Linked DNA regions of Homo sapiens: regions 1, 2, 3, 4, 5 and 7 are each linked to region 6. Evidence: promoter capture Hi-C in human tissues and cell types (Jung and others, 2019). All regions are on one chromosome and are shown on one strand. Each heading gives the region's core, a stretch centred on a gene start or on the middle of the fragment in contact. The rest is flanking DNA. Distances are from core to core; before and after follow the strand shown.

Region 1 (3,103 bases), core at 112-2,611, 790 kb before region 6:
AGAGAGAACCGAGTGTCGACCAGGGCAGGAACCCCACAGGCACCTGGTGGTGGAGGGGGACCTGGGGAGGCTTTGATTTGAAGAAGAGCAAAGTTGGGGAGGGTCCTGGAGAAGAGAGAGGGGGCAGCCCCGGCAGGTCGGTGCTGCAGCTTGAGAAGCCCACTGTGGTGCTGTGTGTGGGTGGGGAGGTTAAGAGCAGAAGGGAAGCAGGGAAACCACAGGCTTCTGGAGCCCAAGGAGTAGATGCCAGACCAGACCCGGGCCTGGCCACTGGCACATATGGGACTTACGGACGACGCTTAGGTTTTCGCCCTGAATAACTGGGTACAGGGCAGGGGAAGGGGTGCTGGATCGCTGGGGGACCCGCAAGCCTCGAACTCAGGGAGAAAGTGACTCGGAGGAAGCCTTCTGGCGGCCTGGAGGAGCTCGGGAGAGCAGCAGACCCAGCCTTAGTCAGGAGGGGCCTTTACTGACTATGGAGGCCCGGGAGGGGCTCTGGGCAGAGAAGGGACCGGCCCCAGGCTGGTGCTTTGGTGCTACTCTGGTGCACAAGAGGGATGCGGTGCGGGGGGAAGGTGGAGCGGCGCAGCAGGTGCGGGGAAGCGGTAGGGGCCCAGGTGTCCGCCGCAGGCGGCCTAGATGGAGTTGGCCCCAGGACGGAGGCCGGAAGGGACCAAAGAACAACAGGAGGGTCCGCGTGCTGGGAGCCAACAAAGAGCCAAGGTGGGCGACCGAGAGACAGGAGAGGGTCGAGGAGAGCAAAGCACCTCGGGGCGCCCGCTCCGCCGTCGGTCTTGGCCCAGCTCTAGCCGCCCCTGGCCACCATCCAGGGGGCCCAGCCCGGCGGTCGGTCTAGGGCCGGGTCCCATGACAGGGCGCGGTACAGGTTCTGGCGGCGGCCCCAGGAGGAGCCGTGGGGGACGCTTCCCGGGGAAAGCGGCGGCCGGGGCGGGAGGGCGAGGGCCGAGGGCGGGGCGGGGCGGGACGGCCTCGCGCCCCCAGGACCCCAGCCTCCCCGCGCCGTGTAGCCGCTCTCCTACCTGCCCGCCCGCCCGTTGCCGGGCTCTGAGCCCGCGCCGCCGCCGCCAGGAAGGAGGGGTCCGCGTCTGCTCCACGCCGGGGGCCAAGCCTAGCTGCTACCGCCGTCGCGCTTCTAGCCCTTGATGGCCGCCGGCGCGCCGGAGTTTCAAACGCCGACGGTTGCCTTCGCGCGGCCAATCAGCGCGCGGCCGGGGGCAGGACCGCAGGAGGGCGGGCGTCCAATGGGAAGCTGTGCCTCGCCGGCTCCGCCCTCCCTCCCCCCCCACCCCCCGCTCGGGCGCCGACGGTTCCGTTTCCGGAGTGGAGGGCACGCCAGGGTGTCTGAAGCTGAGACCCCGGGCTCGCAGTCGCCCCATGAATTTCGAGTTCCGCAACTGACGCTACTGGGCGGGGCTTCATGGCCAGGGCCTCGCTCAGGCCTAAGTTTCCCCACCTGTGCTCAATGCACAGGTGCGGTGCCGCCTCCAGGGCCGGCCGAGAAGAGAGGCCGCACCCGCACGGGGACTGCATCTCCCAGAGCGCCCCGCGAGCGGCCGAGCGGCGGGACTCCATGCCCTAGAGTGCCCCGCGGGCGGCCGGGCGGCGGGACTCCATGTCCTAGAGTGCCCCGCGGGCGGCCGGGCGGCGGGACTCCATGTCCTAGAGTGCCCCGCGGGCGGCCGGGCGGCGGGACTCCATGTCCTAGAGTGCCCCGCGGGCGGCCGGGCGGCGGCCGCCGCAACCGACAGGTCCGGGACTGGGCGCTGCGGCCTCGTCCGCGCGCCGGGGCGGGGGCCTAGCTCGACAGCTTCCCGGCGGCTGCGCGATGGACAGCCCCGAGGTGACCTTCACTCTCGCCTATCTGGTGTTCGCCGTGTGCTTCGTGTTCACGCCCAACGAGTTCCACGCGGCGGGGCTCACGGTGCAGAACCTGCTGTCGGGCTGGCTGGGCAGCGAGGACGCCGCCTTCGTGCCCTTCCACTTGCGCCGCACGGCCGCCACGCTGTTGTGCCACTCGCTGCTGCCGCTCGGTGAGGCTGCTCGGGCCGGCCGGCCGCATCCTCTCCTGCGCAGGGCTTGCTGGGAGGTCAGGAGGAGGCCTCCGCCAGCTCCCCGAGGCCCCGAAAGCGCCTGGGCGCAGCTGGGGAGAGGCGCCGGTCCTCATCCAGAGGGACCGCGGCGTGGGCTGAGCGCGCTTAGGGGCGCCGCCGGCACTGACTTGCAGGTGACGGGAACCCAAGTTCAGAACCTTGGGCAAGGGATGCTCCGGCCCACCAAGTCCTGAACCGTCACGTGCCTGGGGGTTGCAAGGCCAAGCAGCCCTTGCTTGTCGTGGTTGGGGGCAGTGGCCAGGAGAAGGCAACTGTTGATTGAGTCCAACGGAAGGGGTCGGAGGGGCTGTGTGGAGGGTGGCACTGCACTAGGCCTTGGAAGGTGGGTGTGGAGAGAACAGGCGGATTTGGAGGCAGTTCCAGTTTGGGGGCGCCACAGGGGCAGAGGCTGGGGAGGGCCTCTGTGCAGTGCAGGTGGGACGCTCAGAGTTGTCCAGGGGGGTGCTGGGCTGGGCCCCAGGTGCTAGCTGGGGCTCTGGAAGGTCCCTCTCTCAGCTGATTGGATGACGGACAGGTGGGAGGTGGGGTGTGCAGTGGCTGGAGGGGGATTTCAAGGGGGTACCTCTGGAGGACACGGGGGCAGACGCAGCCCTGGGAGGACAGATGGCCAGTGGCTGGCCAGGTTTGCCACTCTGGGGATACAAGAGGGGTGACCCTCCACATCCTGGTTTGAGGATGCAGCTGCCTGGGCCCAGAAGAACTGGAGGCAGGTGTCGGGTGGAGGCGCCCAGGCCTGCCTCATGGAGAGGGTGGGCTGGGGGCCCACTTGAGAGATGGATGGGGCTGAGTGGGGCTGGGGCCCTGACCAGGCCACTTTCTAGGGCTACTGGGTGGGTTTCTGTAGCCCTTCCAGCTGCACCCTCCCCAGAGGCCTATGAGGGACCACAAGTGAATTGTGGCAGCCACACCTGGAGCAGACAGCACAGCTGGCCTCACAGTCGGATGTCAAGCTCTTTTTATTTTTAACTTAG
Region 2 (2,745 bases), core at 70-2,569, 920 kb before region 6:
CAGGCGGTGCCCTGAGGTGCCGCGGAGAAGCAGGAGGAGGCAGGTTACATCCCTGAACAAGACAGAGGGCAGGGCAAGTGCTGTGCTGGGGATCTCCTAGCTGGAGATCTCCACCAGCTGGGCCCCCAGCGCCGCAGGTCCCCATTTTTCTCCCTGCCTGCTTTCTCTGCCCCAACTCAGGGATCCTCATCTTAGGGAAGGAAGGGGAAGGTGGAGCTCAGAGGTCACGGTCTGCTGGGAGGCTGCACGGTCTCTCTCCCCTGGACTGGTCAGGGCCGGCTATTAAACTGGGCTGGGGGGAGGCTCCTGGGAGACGGCGCATGAGCGGTCCGCGAGCCCAGCCCAGCTCTGGCGGGAATTCTGGAGACTTCGAGCCAGGTCCTTGGCGTCCTGGGCTTCGGCTGTTCCTTCTTGGACTGGGAAGTGGAGCGGACAGGGTATGGCCCAGGTTAGGAAGTCTGGCGCTCTTGCGGCGCGCGGGACCCCAGGGGCTGCTTAGGCCAGAGCGAAACGAGGGGTCCCCCCGCGCCAACGCAGGACCCATATCTACCCCTCCCGCTCAGACGGGAGGACGCGGTGTGCCGGGATGGGGGGCCGCTATGCTGGCTGCGCCGCCACCCGGCCTAGTGCCCTCGCCTCCAGGGGCCGGCATGGCCCTGTCCTTCGGGGCGGGACCCTGCGCTCCCGTCCCCCCAGTGGTGACGGGGACTCCCGACGCCGAGCAGCGCCGTATCTGGGGAGCGCCGCCCGGTACGCAGGGAAGAGGCACTCAGAGCTGCGCGCGCCAGAGTGCAGACCGCCGAGGGCAGAGCCACAGAGCAGGGGGGCCGGCGAGGGACCGCGGCCGAGGGCGTCGAGGGCGCCCCTCCATCCCCAGCGTCCCCTGACTTGCCCTTGGAGCCCCAAGCTCCCAGGAGCCGTTTTCTACTCGTGGGTGCAGGACTTAGTCCCAGAAAAGTTCCGGACACACGCGCTGCTGCCGCCGCCCGGAGACGAAAAGACACTCCCCGCGCAAGCGCGGCCGACTCCCTCAGCTCCTGCGGCCGCCACGCTGCGAGCCCCGGCGTCCACGGTACGACGGGAACCAGGATGCAGCGAGCCCCAGGAGCCAGCCGCCCCGGTGCACGCCGGGACCGGTAGTCCGCGCCTCAGGGTAGTCCGCCGCTCCGGTGCACGCCGGGATCGGTAGTCCGCACCCCAGCGTGCAGGCCGTCCCGGTGCACGCCGGAACCGGTAGTCCGCGGTGGCGCGGTCCGCCCCTCACCTGGCCAGCGGCGGGCGCTGAGGGGCCCAATGGGAGCCGCGGCCTGGCCGCCCCGCCCCGCGCCTCCGGACGTCTGTGCCGGGACAAGGCCGCCGCTGGTGCCGGGTCCTTGAGGAGAGCGCCTCCCGTCCGAGGCCAGCCGCCTCTGTCAGCCGTCCGCGCGGGCCGGGTCTGAAGCGCCGCCGGGACGGCGAAGAGCCGCGGCCGCCGCGGAGAAGGAGGCAGCGCAGGAGGCCGGAGCGGCCGCCGCGCCCGAGCACATGGCGTCCATCTTACTGAGGAGCTGCCGCGGCCGGGCGCCCGCCCGCCTCCCGCCGCCGCCTCGGTACACCGTCCCGCGGGGTAAGCGGCGGGCACCCCAGGGCGGGGCCGGCTCCCGGCTGGTGGGTCGGGAGCGCGGACGACCCGCGGGTTCGGGCTGGTTGTCACGGCGATGCGGGGAGCCCGGTGGTCCCGGCCTCCGGAGCCCCTGCGGGACCGTGGGGCCCCGGGTCTCGTCGCGGGCTGGGCCGCCAGCGCCGGGCGGAGCCGCTGGGCCTCTGCCGTGTGTTGTGACCTTAGGCGGCCGGGTCCCCCGGGTCACTGCCTCAGAGACAGTGGGAAAATTCTGAAGGGCTGGGCAGCCCTGGCGCGCCCTGCGCGAGTAAGCTTGGTGGAACGTGTCCACGCACGAGGACGGCCGTGCCCTTTGGTCACGTTTGGGGTCCCGGAGACGAGACTGGGTGGGCAGGGCAGACACCGGCGAGCAGGACCTGCTGGGCTGCAGGAGCCTTCCTGGTCCGTCACTGATGAGGTGATGCCAGCACCTACAAACCCCTGTGGTGTGATTAGGCCGCGACCGGCACCCGGGGAACACGGGGACTCCGGAGCCGCTGAGGGTCCTCAGGGTGCGTGGCTTTAGCCCCCCTAGCCTCAGGTGCTGTCTGGAGTGAATGCTGTCCCAGGGTGTGCCCACCTCCTCTCTCTCTCTAATTAACCAACTTATTTGAGTCTATGTCCTTATTTGTAAAATTGGAATAAACATAAAACTTGCTAAGAGGGACTCAAGTAAAATAATTAGTGCAGTGGTGCGATCATACTCACTGCACCTCAAACTCCTGGGCTCAAGCTATCCTTCTGCCTCAGCCTCCCAAGTTGTTAGTTGTGCCACACAACACCCAGCTAATTTTTTTTTTTGTAGTTTTTTTGTAGAGACAGGGTCTTGGTATGTTGCCCAGCCTGGTCTTGAACTCCAAGGCTCAACTGATCCTCCTGCTTTGGCCTCCCAAAGTGCTGGGATTACAGGAGCCACCATGCCCAGGCACCCAGCTTCAATATTCTTGTCTCTGTTCCCCACCCCCAAAGAGATAGATTGAAGTTGCCCTGAATGTATCCTCCCAATTCTTGTTTTTTTTTGTTTGTTTGTTTGTTTGTTTTTAAAGACAGAGTCTCAATCTGTTGCTCAGGCTAGAGTGCAGTGGTGTGATCTTGGCTCACTGCAA
Region 3 (3,149 bases), core at 595-3,094, 690 kb after region 6:
AAAGGACTTTAGATGTTGCTCCTCTCTGTAGTCTCCTAATTAGCCCCTTGCACACATCTATCATGATGTGGAAGAAATCCTGCACATGCAGGAACCGACAGAAACATCCATCTGTGCCCCTGGATGTAGGCTTGCCGATATTTATTTAATGGTGGATCTTGATGTGGCACTATCATCTGGCTCCCAGTCCATGAAACCAAAGTCCAGAAGCAGTTTTTCCTAACCTGGGACCTGCCAAAAAACACACCTATATGTGCCCCTGTAGGCATGCTGGCTGACTTTATTCCCACTGTGAATCTTGAAGCAGTCCTAAAACCCAGCTCCAGTCCCAAAACCTACCTCCAGTCCCAAAACCTACCTCCAGTCCCTGTCAACTAAAGTCTGGGAGCAGTCCTGCCCACCCAGGAATCTGGAGGGAGAAATGCCGTGAACCCAGAAACAAACCTGAAGACTTTGGTCTCAGCTGTGTATCCTGAAGCAGCCCTATGAATCAGTTCCACACCCTCTCAGCTGTGACCAAGGGTCAGTACTTCTCATCTAGGAATCTGTCCAATGACTGGGTTAGAAGATTTCTAAAAACCCAGCAAGAGCCACACAGCAGAAGCCATACCTGCTCACATGGATTATATCAGCTCTGTCATCTGCATATACAACTGGAGACTTTTTTTTCTCAGCACCAGTCTTACTGATCAAGATCCTGAAGAAAGTTCAGTCTTCCTAGAAAATAGACAGAATCCACAACAGTCTGATGCCCTAATAACAGGTCTGCCAAGCATGAACTTCACTGTGATCCAGATCCAATGCACCTTACTGCAAACTCACTGGAAATCTCATCAGCACAGAGATCCAATAGGAGAAAATATTTACCACCCCAAACTAATCTATAATGACTGCAAGAGATATTTACTCCTTCAGATGCAAGGACATAAAAACAAGGCATCACAGACCATGAAAGATCAGGCAAATGTAACACCACCAAAAGAAACTAAAAATTCTCTAGTAACCACTTACAGTAAAACACAGATCTAAAAAATGGCTAAGAATTCAAAATAATTATCTTAAAGAATCTCAATGAGATGCAAAAAAACCACACATTACTAAATTTTTTTTGCAACAACGTATGAACAGAATCACAATTATAATAAAGAGAAACCATTAAAACAGAACCAGTTAGATATGCTGGAGCTGAAGTACACAATAGGAGATCTAAAATATTTAAGAGAAAGCTTTAACAGGAGACTCCGTTATACAGGAAAAAAAAAATCAGCAAATGTAAAAGTTATTTGAAAGTTCCTAGTTAGAATTTAAAAAAAGAATGCGAGTGAATAAAGCATTTGTCCCCCATATTTCATAATCAATGGTAAGGATGTACAATTTTAGGAGGTTCATGAGAAAGAAAAAAATTTTTAAATTGTTTAAAGATATAATGTCTTAAATTCTTCCCAATCTTGGAAGGAATATAGATATTAAATTTAAAAGCTCAAAATGTCTATAGCAAGAAGAATCTAACAGAAATTGTCCAGAACACATTATAATTAAACTGCCAAAATTCAAAGACAAACAAAAAAGAAAAAAAAAAGAAAGAATGAGTAATACCCAGTATGAGTATAATAATTTAGTTGCACATTTTAAAATAACTAAAAGAGCATAATTGGATTGTTTATAACCCAAATTATAAATGCTTGAGGGGATGGATATACCCCATTTTTGATTATGTGATTGTTACACATTACATGCCTGGATCAAGACATCTCATGTGCCACACAAATATATACATGTCCTACATACTCACAAAAATTAAAATTAAAAAAAGAAAACCCTTTACCTGGGGTTTGCCTGCAAAACCTAAAATAAAGAGTAAAAAGTAAAAAAAAAAAAAAAAAAGCAAGAGAAAAGAGATTCTTCACATTCAAGGGAACTCCTATAAGGTTATCAGCAGATTGCCCAGCAAAAACCATGCAAGCCACACAGGAGTGAAACCATATATTTAAAATGCAAATGAAGGAAGAAAAAGAAAAAACCTTGACAACTAAGAAGACGATACCTGACAGAGCTGTTCTTTAGAAATGAAGTATCAAAATCTTCTCAGATTAAAAAAAAGTTGAAAGTTTTAATCACTAGACCTGACTTACAACAAATGCTAATGAGAATTTAAGTTGTAATGGAATCCAAACTTACAACAAAATTATAAATCTTACTGAAAATCATATATACATAGTCGAATTTAGAAGGCTATAAAACTAATTATGGTGAATGAATTAATCACATTTAACTCTGGTATAAAAGCTACAAGAAAAAATTATTAAGACTACATATAGCTTCAATAATTTGTTAAAGGGTATACGATATAAAAAGATGTAGAGTGTGACATAAATACTATGTTGAAGGGAGTAAAATTGTTTAATTTTTCTATACATAGAAGCTAACTTTTGCTTGAGGCCAGGAGTTCAAAACTAGTCTGGTCAATATAGCAGGACCCTGTCTCTTAAATAAGTACATAAATAAAATTAAATAAAGATCTCAGAAAGCTATTTAGTCTTTTAAAAAAAGAAGCAGCTGGGCCTGATGGCTCATGCCTGTAATACTAGCACTTTGGGAGTCCAAGGCAGGTGGACTGCTTGAGCCCGGGAGTTCAACACCAGCCTGAGCAACTTGGCAAAACCCTGTCTCTACAAAAAATACTAAAAAAATTAGCCAGACATGGTGGCATGTGCTTGTAGTCCCAGCTACTTGGGAGGCTGAGGATTGCTTGAGCCTGGGGAGGTCAAGTCTGCACTGAGCTATGAATGTACCACTGCACTACACTGGGTAACAAAGCAAGACCCTATCTATACAAACCAAAAGCTAAATTCTTATCTGAAATTAGATTTTATAACTATGAGATGTTTTACATAAGCTTCCTGGAAATTACAAAAAAAACTGTAGTGGTTACACACAAAAGAAAAAGAATGCATATAACAACAAAAACAACAAAAATTCAAGAAAATACAGGGGAAGACAGCATGAAACAATGAAAAAACAAACTACTAAATGGTCAGAAAACAGTAAGAAAATGGCAGTAAGTTCTTATCAATCAGTAATTCATTTAAATATATAAAGATTTAGTTATCCAATAAAAACACATTGCTATAGTTTGAGCGTCCCCTCCA
Region 4 (3,053 bases), core at 96-2,595, 590 kb after region 6:
TGTAGGCCTCACTGTAAGTAACAAAATTCTGCAGGTTTGAAAAGGGTCCATGAATTAGCTTTTTACAGCAAGTCTCCTGTTAATGCTGACGCTCCTCCCTCTAGACCCATTATAGTACCACTCAGTTAGAGAAAGCAGACACAGCACACAGAGTCCCTTACCCCAACACCGTTATCACAACACAAATACTTTTCATCCCAAGACCACCAATCATCATCTTCAAACATGGCATTCTCTGCAGACCCTATAAGGTTACAGAAGTTGGAGACGGTGGCAATGTCTGAGTAAGTCTGTATCTGAAAAACAACATGTGCATCTGCATTAATGCCATCTTTATGGGGCATGTAATATGTGCTCAGATGTATGTCACAGAGCACTGTGATGGGAAGCTCATATTATGTGTGTTAATTCTCATAACATCCTGGGAGGTAGACACTAGGTGTCCCATACTTCCCAGATTTAAAGGCAGGGCCCAGAATTTCCATTTCCTTTCTGTTTCCCCTGACTTTTTAAAAAAATGTATAGAATAATAGCTAAATATAAATAGATGGGAGAGAGCCAAAGAAAGTGTTAAGTACAATTCAGAGGAATTTTTTTATTTTTGTGTTTGTATTTACTTTGAGACTTGTAAGAAAAAGCCACTGAAACTGCAGGGATAGAGAACAGGTTGCTGGGTGGGATGTCTCTAGAAACATTAGTTTTAATTTTATAGAAAAGATTTAAGGCCCCAAAGTATATAGCTTTTCCCTATTTATTGGCTTTTGGGTTTCAGAAAATTGTGGGCACCAGCTCTGGAGAGGAGACTGGAGTAGCCACCCTAAACTCTGATCTCCTCTATTAATCAGTTCTGTGAGAGATTTCAGTGTTGGCTCAGACCTGGACAAGGATCAGAAGAGGGTAGATCTGGGCAGGGATGGGACAGAAAGTGGGCCCTAGGCTTCTGCTCTCTATGTCACTAAGTACTTTCGGTTTTGTCTTTTCTAAGCCTGCCCAAGAGAAATTTGATTCCCAGAATTTGTGAAATTTTAATCTATTTTAGCCACTTCTCTGTCTTTTGTATAACATACAGTAACAAGGAATTTAACCAAAACCCTTATGTTTCTCTAGAACAATTATATTAGAAGCTAAATATTTATTCTTAGCAAGGTAAACACAATACAAATAATAACAACTTCTCTTCTGTCAATGAATAGCCATTCACATAATGGCATCAAAACTCACAAAACAGGCTGGGCACGGTGGCTCACGCCTGTAATCTCAGCACTTTGGGAGGCTGAGGCGGGTGGATCACAAGGTCAGGAGTTCAAGACCAGCCTGGCCAATATGGTGAAACCCCATCTCTACTACAAAATATAAAAAATCCGCCGGGCATGGTGGCGTGCGCCTGTAATCCCAGCTACTCGGAGGCAGGAGAATTGCTTGAACCTGGGAGGCGGAGGTTGCAGTGAGCCGAGATCGCACCACTGCACCCCAGCCTGGCGACAGAGCGAGATTCTGTCTCAAAAAAAAAAAAAAGAAAAATGTTTTTTTGACCTAAAAGGAAAAAGGTGGGGTAAACATAATATAAGAAGAGAGTTTATTTGGGCCAAAGCTTGAAGATTGCAACCCTGGACTATAAAGCTGCCCTGAATATACACTCCAATTAGAAGCAGTTACAAGTATATTTTTAAAGGCAAAAAGAAAGGCAGACGGAACTGATAGAAAGCTGTCAGAAATTCTTATTGGTTTATAGAAGTAACATTGGTTAGTGATTGGCTATGTACGTTGTTAAGCTATAAGGTGTGGGTTATAGTGTCCAGTATGGCATTATTAGGTTAATTTATATCCACTTGTGGCAATAGCAAACAACTTCAAAAGACAAACAGTTCAAAGAGGGGAACGGTAGGACTGTGGTCTCATTTTAACACATCACTTGGTCTCGTAATTAAAAGAACTTGTATTTCTCAAACAAAAGTTCTGTTCTTCTCTCAAATCCCAGGACATAAACTCAGAATTTGGAACTGCACATTTAAGACTTGGAGGGCTGGTAAGCACATTTGTGGGCATTTGGGCAAGGGGAGAAGGGAGAGAATGGAAGTTCTCAGGTTTAATCAATGCACATGTGTGAACCTCGCTGGATTTATGGGCCCCATGATTTCTGAATCAGTGTCAGATCTGAAGATCATTGGCACACTGAAAGAGGTGGAAAAACTGATCGCTATCCTAAAAAGTCATTTTTGTAGAAATCTAGTCAAACTGCTATAGAAGGGATTGTAGATCCCAAATAGAGAGATCATTTTGTTTGCAGCTTTGGGGAGCACTTTGCTGCACTTCGTGCACTTTGCTGCACAACTGTGGGTTGTGACTGGAATCCTGAGAAAGAAGGTTCTTCTCTAAAACGAAGCCTGGTGGGCACTTTGTGTATAACATCTAGTAATTCTTGACAGCGTGTGGAAAATATAACAGCAAAATCATCTACAATCCTAAAATACTGTCCAAAATAATAGAACAGCAAGAAAATGTGTTGTTAGAGAATTAAACAAAATGTGGTGTGCATTACAGGCAGTCTACTAAGAGACTGCCAAAACAAAGAAAGTCACCATAATTAGCTCTCAAGTAGAAGACTTGACAGTACCATGTATCATACATAGTTTATTACACTTTCACCTAGTAATTTGGGAGGTCATCCGGGTTTCCTAATTGGTAATATTCAAAGGGAAAATAAACTTCCCACAGCTTCAGGACAGGAGGTAGATTTGATATGTGAAGGCAGGTACCTGCTGAAGGCAGCCTCCTACTCTGCTACAGAAATTGCGGAATAGGTTATATATTCTTGCTATGCACATTTCAAAGCAATAGTTTCCATGTCCTAAAGACAATTTTGAGTCAAAAAAGACAAATCACCTAGTTAACAGATTAAAATGAGTTATATATATTTCAAAGAAGCAGAGAAAATATTTAAATATAAAAGTTTTCAAACTAAATGCTTTAAGGGAGAAGAGTAAAAATTCTTTCCTCATTCTAAAGAGAAAGCATTAAGCCTCTTCTGATTTGTATTTGGTCCTACAACAGGC
Region 5 (2,808 bases), core at 35-2,534, 770 kb after region 6:
CCAGTATGGATTCTCTTATGTGTCGTAAGAGTTGTGGACCTATTAAAGGATTTTCCACATTCTTCACATTTGTAGGGTTTCTCTCCTGTATGAATTCTCTTATGTTTAGCAAAGTCTGAGGATGTGGTAAAGACATTGCCACATTCTTCGCATGAGAAGGGTTTCTCTCCAGCATGAATTCTCTTATGTTCATTAAGGGATGAGGACCACTTAAAGGCTTTACCACATTCTTCACATTTGTAGTATTTTTGTGCAGAATGAATTCTCTTATGTAAATTAAGGGTTGAGGATTGGTTAAAAGCTTTACCACATTTTTCACATATGTAGGGTTTCTCTCCAGTATGAATTCTCTTATGTTTAGTAAGGTGTGAGGACCGAGTAAAGCCTTTACCACATTCTTCACACTTGTAGAATTTCTCTCTGGCATGAATTCTCTTATGTTTAGTAAGAATTGAGGACCAATTAAAGGCTTTGCCACATTCTTCACATGTGTAGGGGTTCTCTCCAGTATGAATTCTTTTGTGTTGAGTTAGGCGTGAGAGCACGTGAAATGATTTGCCACATTCTTTACATTTAAAGGTTTTATCTCCAGTATATCTTATCTTATCTTTGTTTGAATTTGAAAATTTATGAAAAACTTTGACACATATATTAGATTGAATTGTTTTTTTCTGGGTAGTTAATAAGCATTGGTTAATTCTATTATAACCACCTTTCTGCACCTTACACTCATTTATACTTTTACAAGTTTTTCTTAAATTCTCATGTCCACGTTTCTCATGTCCTTTTGGTATAAGTTTGTGGAATGAATCTTCTATGCCCTGCACTGTCCAAAGGTTTTGGGTGAAATGAGAACACACAGCTGAAAGAAATAAAAATAACAAATTATCCCACTTACTAGATTCATATAAATATACTTTACAGGCCAGGCACTATAGCTCAAGCCAGTAATTCCAGCAGTTTCCGAGGCCAAGGTGGGCAAATAATGAGGTAAGGAGTTCGAGACCAGCCTGGCCAACATGGTGAAACACTGTCTGTACTAAAAATACAAAAAAAATGTGCTGGGAATGATGGTGCATGCCTATAATCCCAGCTACTTGGGAGGCTGAGGCAGGAGAATCCCTTGAACCCGGGAGGTAGAGGCTTCCATCAGCCAAGATCACACCACTGCACTCCAGAAAAGGTGACAGTGTGAGACCCCATCTCAATAAATAAATAAACAAATAAGTAAATAAATATACTTTACAAATCTAATACAATTACAAATCTAATATATAAAATTATACAAAGTATATCAGTAAGATGCTCAGTAAATACCACAGGCCATAATTTCTTTACAGACATATATAACAAAAATATACTGACCAAAATGCCTTTGTGTGAAATCTATAAATGAGTTAATTATGTGCAATGCCTCAGGTAAGCACAATTCCAAGAGCCACATAAAACACGAAGTAAAGTATGTTACATTTACCCACTGCAGCTCTTCCTTCCCACAAATATAGCATTGTGCTTTAGGAGTAAACTGCCAACACCTGGCTTCTTAGAGGAAAAATAGTGACACACGCATTCCTACTTCTGGTTTTTGGAAATTATTACAAAAGCTGGTTTCTGTCTCCAATAATACAGGGTGCTGAAAGAAATGGTGGTGAGTCTGCTGAGACCAAAGGTAAATGTTTCATGAGCAGACAGCAGTGCTAAAAACAGGGAACAGGTAGAGCAAGTGATTAGAAACCATAAGAAGAAACATGAACAAACTCTTTTAACTGAAGAATAAACACAAAATTCTAGACAAGACACACCCTTACAACATGTATGAGAGGCTCCCATAATCTCTATCAAAGACAACTGGTTTCAGACTATGTGAGGACAAGGCAACATTGTAAAGATTGTGACAAATAGCTTTTAGTTCATGTTCAAATAACAATATTACAATGTAGGCAAAATACTAGGGCAACATGGCCCAATTAAAAAATTTGAAAATTTTCAGAAAACAACTATAAATAATGAAGATATTCAAAATTTAAAAGTTTAACCTGAATAATGCTCAATGAGTGAAATAGAAACATATACAATTTATAAAATCAGAAAAATAAGAATATCAATGAAAACATTAAAAATATAAAAAACAAGTCATGAAGGTGAAAAATACAACAATAATGACTGAGACATTTTCAAAAGTAAAAAAAGGATGTAAAAACTGAAGATGCTCCACAAGCTTCAACTAGGATACACACATAGAGATTTATAACAAGACACATACAAGCAAAGTTTCAAAAGTCAAAGACAAGAAGAGAATCTTAGGAGTTACAAGGTAAAAGTGATGTGTCATTTATAAATAAGTGTGGTCTTATAAGATAACCAGTGAATCTGTCAAAAAAAAAAAATTCCAGATGTCATGGAATTGTAATATAAAGTGGTGAAAGAAAAATAGCTTCGGCCAGGCACAGTGGCTCAGACCTGTAATCCCAACACTTTGGGAGGCCAAGGTGGGCAGATCACAAGGTCAGGAGTTCGAGACCATCCTTGCCAACATGGTGAAACCCTGTCTCTACTAAAAATACAAAAAAATTAGCCAGGTGTGGTGCACATGCCTGTAGTCCCAGCTACTCGGGAGGCTGAGGCAAAAGAATTGCTTGAACCCAGGAGGCAGAGGTTGCAGTGAGCCAAGATCGCGCCACTGCACTCTAGCCTGGGCGACAAAACAAGACTCCATCTCAAAAAAAAAAAAAAGAAAAAAGAAAAAAAGAATAGCTCCTAAGTGGGACTAATATAACCAGCAAAACTGTCCTAAAAATGAAGAAAAAG
Region 6 (2,891 bases), core at 66-2,565:
TGACTGTGTCTTACCTCAAGGGACCACTCTAGGTAATTGGTAACACACATCATTTTGGGTCCAATATTGACAGGTTTGATTTTTCCACAGAAGCTGGAAAACTAGGTTTTTAACATTTAGGCCTTTCAATTATTATTATTATTATTATTTATTTTTTGAGGCGGAGTCTCAGGCTAGGGTACAGTGGCGCCCGCCTCCCGGGTTCAAGCGATTCTCCTGCCTCAGCCTCCCGAGTAGCTGGGATTACAGGCACCCGCCACCACGCTCGGCTAATTTTTGTATTTTTAGTAGAGACGGGGTTTCACCATGTTGACCAGGCTGGTCTGGAACTCCTGACCTCAGGTGATCCGCCTGCCTCGGCCTCCCAAAGCACTGGGATTACAGGTGTAAGCCACCGCGCCTGGCATCAGTCTTTAAATGATAGCAACTAATTCACCTCCTGCTACCCACTCCCAACCCCCAAATACTGTGTGGGCCAAAAACTAAAAATGCATTGTCTGTGAGCCATTTCCTTATTATCCTATAAGGAAAGTCACCATTTCATCTCCAAATAGTTGGGCATTACGAACCCTTCCAAGTGGTTCATGAGGATTTGCTTTTGCCTTGGAAAATGTCAGGGTGAGAACGAACCTTGAGGGTCACAGGGCAGTCTCTGCAGTGTTGTGGTTGCCCAGGACGAAGGTTTTTCTAGCCCACGGCTCCCACTACTGGTCACTGCCCCAGGCCAGACCCTGGCCCTCTCCTCGGAAGACAGAGCAATGCAGCAGCGTTTCCCCTGCAAACTGCCTGCCTGGCTGCTGGGAGGGGGCTGCCAACCTTACTCACTAAGCGTCACAGGAAACTCCGACCTCCATGAGACGAAAACCAAGTATTTACTGAAAGCTTAACGCACGCTAACTCCTTGCTCCTTAGCCAACTGAGAGAAAAATTCGCGAACCCATTCGCAAACGCGGCGCTAACAGCAAACGGGAGGCTGACTCCACCCAGAGGATGGCGAAGCGCTTAAACCGGAGACACCTGAGAAGGAGCCTCCCACAAAACAGACCATGTGGGGAACGGTACCGGGAGCTGGACTGGGGCGCTGAACTACCTGGGCGGGAATCGCCTCGGCGACTGTTCCGCGCGCCTCCGCTTGAGTCAGCCCGGCCGGGAGCTTGACAGCCGGAAGTTCATCGCAAGCCCGGCGACGCCGCGCACGCGCTGTCTCCGTCAGACCTCCGCGCCTGCGCGCGCAGCCAGGAAGTGAGGCCGCGGCGGAGGGGACGGGGCTAGGCCGGGTCGCCGCCTGACGCGACGCGTCCTCACGGGCGCCTACGTCACGGCGTCGAGGCGGAAGATGGTGCACCTCCGGGCCGGCGGTTGCTGAGCTGACCCGGACGGCGAGGGAGCGGGAGCCCGAGCCCGACCACTCCGGCTGCCGCGGGGTGCGGCGCAGCCACCGCCATGTCGCTGCTGCAGTCGGCGCTCGACTTCTTGGCGGGTCCAGGCTCCCTGGGCGGTGCTTCCGGCCGCGACCAGAGTGACTTCGTGGGGCAGACGGTGGAACTGGGCGAGCTGCGGCTGCGGGTGCGGCGGGTCCTGGCCGAAGGTGAGGCCCCGGGTCGGCAGCGCGGGTGCGGCCGCGGAGTGTTGTCTCCGGGACGCTGGGGGCAGCGTCAGCCCGGAGTGGAAGGGCGTGGGTTAGGGCTGGGGAGGGTCCCAGCGGGATCGTGGGTCAGGGTCGGCCAGGGGAGGGTCTCTGCCGAGGGCGTGGGTCAGGGCCAGGCGAAGGTCATAGCGCGGGCGTAGGTGAGTGCCTGCTGGCGGTGATTGCGGAGGGCGAGGCTGGGACCGGGTCGGGGTACTTTCTTGTCATAAGAGTAGGGTCAAGTCGGAGCAAGGCCTGGGGCTTGGGGAACCCCCTCAGGGTGGGTGGGGGAAGATGTTACGGTGAGGTGGGGGATGGTGGCAGGCAGGGAGCTTGGGTGGGGACCCACAGCGGAGACTGAGGGACGGTGCCTAGAAGGCCGACAGCTGGAGTCAGGAGGTGAGCGGTGCAGGAGGTGGGTTTAAGCCTTGGCCTTTTGCCGGACATCTGGGGTTATTGAGCAGGCAGGGACAGGACTGGACTTTGGAGGTTAGGGCTGGTTCTTCTACAGTCCAGGGAACTTGAGAGTTGGTGGGTGCACACGTGTTGCAGGTAGTTGCGGTTGTAGCCTGGGGGGTGGGGGGGTTGGCCGAGGGTAGACTGGGCTGTGTCTCGTGATCCCCCTTCGTCTTTCAACACCTCAGTGTTTCTCTTCCCGGTGAACATCTACTCGTGTGATTCCGTGTGTAGTACAGGAAGCAGAGCCAGTGGTTGTGACCTATATAGAACTTGCAGAGTGGACAGGTCACTCGGCTTAAGTCCTCTTGAGTCAGTCTTGAGTCAGTTTTGTCTCTGCATGCTATTTCTAGCTCCCTGGATGTCCTCTCCGTTCACACGGAATCGATCACCAGTGCCAGTGGGTCCCATTCTCTCTTGTGGATTTTCCTTACATTTTTTGTCCAGTGGTGCCTGGAGGTGTGTCATATTTCACTGGCTGTGAAGTTTATGGGCTAAACACAGTTGACTTGGGTGCGGAAGCGTAACTCTATTCTGCTGTATTGGCACAGGGAGAGGGAGTGAAGCGACACAAAAGCCCTCACCCTCACCAGCTCCCTGGTACCTCTCAGGGCTGGAGGGTTAGCCTGTCCAGGTGCCTGCTCTGTGACCAGACAGGAGACTATCCCAGAATTCTGATTATCACAAAAGGCCTGCGGAGACATTTTGACTGTAGCATTATCACACACTTTGTCTCCATTGTGGTCAAAACCAAACAGATTTTGGGTATGATTTGGTCAGAAAGTCTAAGCTCTTCTTTCAGAAGTGG
Region 7 (3,110 bases), core at 8-2,507, 770 kb before region 6:
GGGGAAGCACGAGGTTGCTGGAAGTGAGTAGTTGCTCTGCACCGTCAAGCATGCACACATCTGTCTAGATGTGCCCGCGATCTGTGAAACTCGGGCTTTGTTAGAATAATGGAATTCTTTGGTGGTCGGTTTTATGAAAGGCAATATTGTCACAATCCTGTCAACATTGACATTGGTAATGACTTCAAGCTGGGACTAATGGCATAGAGACAAATTAAATACAAGATGGGAAACTCTACACTCTCTGAACTTCTTAGAGTCAACTTCATAAGCTCCAGCATCAGGCCGGATGTTGGATCAATGAGATAAGGTTAACCCATAGAAATGCCAGAACTGAAGCTGAAAACTAGATATGGGTTTTTCTGACTGCCACACACACTGCAAAAATTTGAAGCAAATCTCCCATCTTAATGACTTTATAAACACATACCAGAGATGAACGAAATAAGTTGATTTCAGCCATATGATAGCCCTGGACTACTGAAGTGTGGACACCCAAAAGGAATCATAATTTAGTTTGAAGTCTAAAATCTAGTTGGTTTTATTAGACCCCCAAACACAGTGGGCACACTGCCAAGGAGCTCCATGACTTCTGCTCTAGTAAGACAGCCCTGGATAGACAGATGCAGCTGATAGGTTATGTTCTACATCTAGTTTGCTTTTGTCCTGCTAAACTCCAGTTTAGTATGGTTTGATACACATAGTTCACTGATATAATGCTTTTATTTTTTTGGGTGGGGGACAGAGATGAGGTCTCACTATCTTGCCCATGCTGGTCTTGAACTCCTGGGTTCAAGTGATCCTCCTACCTCAGTTTCCAAAGTGCTGGTATTACAGGCACAAGCCACTGTGTCCCACCAGCCTTTGAATATTTCTTGACATACAGTTTGAAAGAAAACAAAGTATGTGTCATGGTTCAGTAGCATTTTCCTTTTATTGCAGCTTTACCACTCCTGAAGGCCCTAAACCCCGTTCCAGATGCTCTGACTGGGCAAGTGCAGTTGAAGAAGATGAAATGAGGACCAGAGTTAACAAAGAAATGGCAAGGTACACATTTTGGACCACCTTGAAGTGTTAATCTGTGGCGTTTTCAGTAACACATTAAATTTGATATTTGTCTTAGAACAGTGGTTTTCAAAGGTCTGGGCTCCAGACCAAAGGCATCAACATTTCCTGGGAACTTGTTAGAAATACAGATTCTCAGACCCTTCCCTGGGCCTGCGAATGGGGTGGGGCCTGGCCATCCTGTGAAAAGCCCTCCAGGCGGGTCCACTCTTTCAAGCTTGAAGACCACTGTCCTCTTGGTGGTAATCCTTCCAAGAGTGGAAGTAGGTGCACAATGGTGTTACTGCTGGATTGCAGGCTGGAGGACTATCAGAACTAACTTTCTTTTTTTTTTTTTTTTTTTGAGACAGTCTCGCTCTGTTGCCCGGGCTGGAGTACAGTGACAAGATCTCGGCTCACTGCAACCTCTGCCTCCCGGGTTCAAGCGATTCTCTTGCCTCAGCCTCCTGAGTAGCTGAGATTACAGGCACAGGCCACCACGCCTGGCTAATTTTTGTATTTTTTGTAGAGATGGGGTTTCACTATGTTTGTCAGGCTGGTCTTGAACTCCTGATCCGCCCACCTCGGCCTCCCAAAGTGCTGGGATTACAGGCATGAGTCACTGTGCCCGGCCTAACTATCAGGAACTTACTATAGTCATTTGTTACCACCGACCTTCTGTGTGCGGTGCTCACACAACCCAGCACAGTAGATGGAGTGCTCTCTCCAGATGAAGGAATACATTGACACTTGGCTTAGGCAACAAACAGCTCAGAAATGCCAACATACAAGGAAAGGTCTCAAACTTGGATTCTGTGAACCTCTTGCAGTTGCACACAAGATTGTTGTGTGTATCCAAGTTCTTGCAAACTAAGCTACTTCGTCTTCGTTGACTCATTACCTAATGCATCCTTAACCATGTTTAATCTCCCTTGATTATCAGTGTGTTGATCCTTTCTCTTTTGATGAGTTGTCTAACTCAAACCCAGTTGCAAGGACTGGGTTTATTCAAACCCAGTTAAAATGTGGCTCATAATTGGTTGAAGTATTTTACAAGATAATTTTAGCCAACAAGTGGCTGATAAACAGGGTCTCAAGAAAAATGTGTCTTGCGTGTCAGCCGCGGAACGATACCTAGACTACCTGTTTTCATTTTGGCAGCCAGTGATGGTATTTATATCAGCCTCCTTTGAAAAGGGACGGGAATATGTGGGAATTGGTTATTGAACATTTGGGGGAGTTATTTGTCATTTCTTCTGGTATCAAAATGTGTGGGTGGATGTATGCCTTGGTAGAAGAAATGAACTAGGAGTTCACAGATGAGAGTACCAGTGTTTTTAGTGAATTATTGCATTTATATAGGTCTTGACTTCCTCAATTATAAAATTAGAATGTTTGACTTGACTTGTATAGTTTGTGTTGCATGCACAAGTCTTAGAACAGTTCTTGCATACCGATAGCCTAGTTGCTCCCTCAAGTCACCCCTTGCCAGGGGTTATCTGCAGCTCTTATTCATGCGTATTCCACCTGTCCAGATTGTCCTGTGAGTGGACCCTATTTGTTCTTCAGATATCTCATGGGTCTGTGCCTGAAAATTGTCCTGTTTTGGAAAACAGCACTGTTTGGGCTGCTCTGTTGATTATACCCTTTGTGATGGAAAGCTACGGCTTTTATTTACTTACTTATTTTTTTGAGATGGAGTCTTGCTCTGTTTCCCAGGCTGGAGTGTAATGATGCAATCTCAGCTCACTGCAACTTCCGCTTCCTAGGTTCAAGCGATTCTCCTGCCTCAGCCTCTCGAGTAGCTGGGATTATAGCTGTGTGCCACCACGTCCGGCTAATTTTTGTATTTTTAGTAGAGGCTAGGTTTCACCATATTGGCCAGGCTGGTCTTGAACTCCTGACCTCAGGTGATTTGCCCGCCTCGGCCTCCCAAAGTGTTGGGATTATAGGCGTGATCCACCTTGCCTGGCCAAAGCTGCAGCTTTTAGTGCAACCTGTGTAATTTAAACTGCTGGCCCTTTAGTGAGCCATTACTGACAGGCCGGCTTACTTCCTGACAGTAA

The links. The method cuts DNA at HindIII sites, captures the fragments that hold promoters and counts their contacts. A contact is called where the count stands out against the background at its distance.
Region 1: the fragment with the promoter of TMEM129 here is called in contact with the fragment with the promoter of GAK in region 6 in 1 of the 25 tissues and cell types used here (spleen).
Region 2: the fragment with the promoter of LETM1 here is called in contact with the fragment with the promoter of GAK in region 6 in 1 of the 25 tissues and cell types used here (dorsolateral prefrontal cortex).
Region 3: a contact is called between a fragment that was not itself captured here and the fragment with the promoter of GAK in region 6, in 1 of the 25 tissues and cell types used here (lymphoblastoid cells).
Region 4: a fragment that was not itself captured here is called in contact with the fragment with the promoter of GAK in region 6 in 1 of the 25 tissues and cell types used here (lymphoblastoid cells).
Region 5: a fragment that was not itself captured here is called in contact with the fragment with the promoter of GAK in region 6 in 2 of the 25 tissues and cell types used here (dorsolateral prefrontal cortex and lymphoblastoid cells).
Region 7: a contact is called between a fragment that was not itself captured here and the fragment with the promoter of GAK in region 6, in 2 of the 25 tissues and cell types used here (dorsolateral prefrontal cortex and spleen).

The regions. Positions count from the first base shown.
Region 1 is chr4:1,719,581-1,722,683 of GRCh38, reverse strand. It overlaps TMEM129 (transmembrane protein 129, E3 ubiquitin ligase), which reads left to right and starts at 1,361. Exons shown (of 4, transcript NM_001127266.2): 1 at 1,361-2,051. The coding sequence starts at 1,847. TACC3 (transforming acidic coiled-coil containing protein 3) reads right to left here and starts at 1,163. Exons shown (of 16, transcript NM_006342.3): 1 at 1,041-1,163. RefSeq lists enhancers at 333-1,328, 2,411-2,510 and silencers at 951-1,760, 1,771-1,820. The HindIII fragment of the contact is 14,879 bases long and covers 1-3,103 here.
Region 2 is chr4:1,854,730-1,857,474 of GRCh38, reverse strand. LETM1 (leucine zipper and EF-hand containing transmembrane protein 1) reads left to right here and starts at 1,319. Exons shown (of 14, transcript NM_012318.3): 1 at 1,319-1,606. The coding sequence starts at 1,525. RefSeq lists enhancers at 1-233, 903-972, 1,610-2,111 and silencers at 503-722, 1,123-1,682, 1,693-1,882, 2,677-2,745. The HindIII fragment of the contact is 14,961 bases long and covers 1-2,745 here.
Region 3 is chr4:236,368-239,516 of GRCh38, reverse strand. It overlaps the pseudogene ZNF876P. Among named protein-coding and RNA genes, the nearest start is that of ZNF732, 68 kb to the left of the region's middle. The HindIII fragment of the contact is 5,262 bases long and covers 1-3,149 here.
Region 4 is chr4:339,535-342,587 of GRCh38, reverse strand. All of the region lies in intron 1 of ZNF141 (zinc finger protein 141), which reads right to left. Among named protein-coding and RNA genes, the nearest start is that of ZNF141, 3.2 kb to the right of the region's middle. The HindIII fragment of the contact is 3,033 bases long and covers 1-2,861 here.
Region 5 is chr4:158,966-161,773 of GRCh38, reverse strand. ZNF718 (zinc finger protein 718) reads right to left here. Exons shown (of 4, transcript NM_001039127.6): 4 at 1-862. Among named protein-coding and RNA genes, the nearest start is that of ZNF718, 36 kb to the right of the region's middle. The HindIII fragment of the contact is 3,300 bases long and covers 1-2,808 here.
Region 6 is chr4:930,740-933,630 of GRCh38, reverse strand. GAK (cyclin G associated kinase) reads left to right here and starts at 1,315. Exons shown (of 28, transcript NM_005255.4): 1 at 1,315-1,588. The coding sequence starts at 1,444. It overlaps TMEM175 (transmembrane protein 175), which reads right to left and starts at 1,171. Exons shown (of 11, transcript NM_032326.4): 1 at 1,091-1,171. RefSeq lists an enhancer at 730-1,049 and a silencer at 1,210-1,529. The HindIII fragment of the contact is 8,506 bases long and covers 1-2,891 here.
Region 7 is chr4:1,701,533-1,704,642 of GRCh38, reverse strand. It overlaps SLBP (stem-loop histone mRNA binding protein), which reads left to right. Exons shown (of 8, transcript NM_006527.4): 3 at 943-1,047. Among named protein-coding and RNA genes, the nearest start is that of SLBP, 9.2 kb to the left of the region's middle. The HindIII fragment of the contact is 4,119 bases long and covers 1-3,110 here.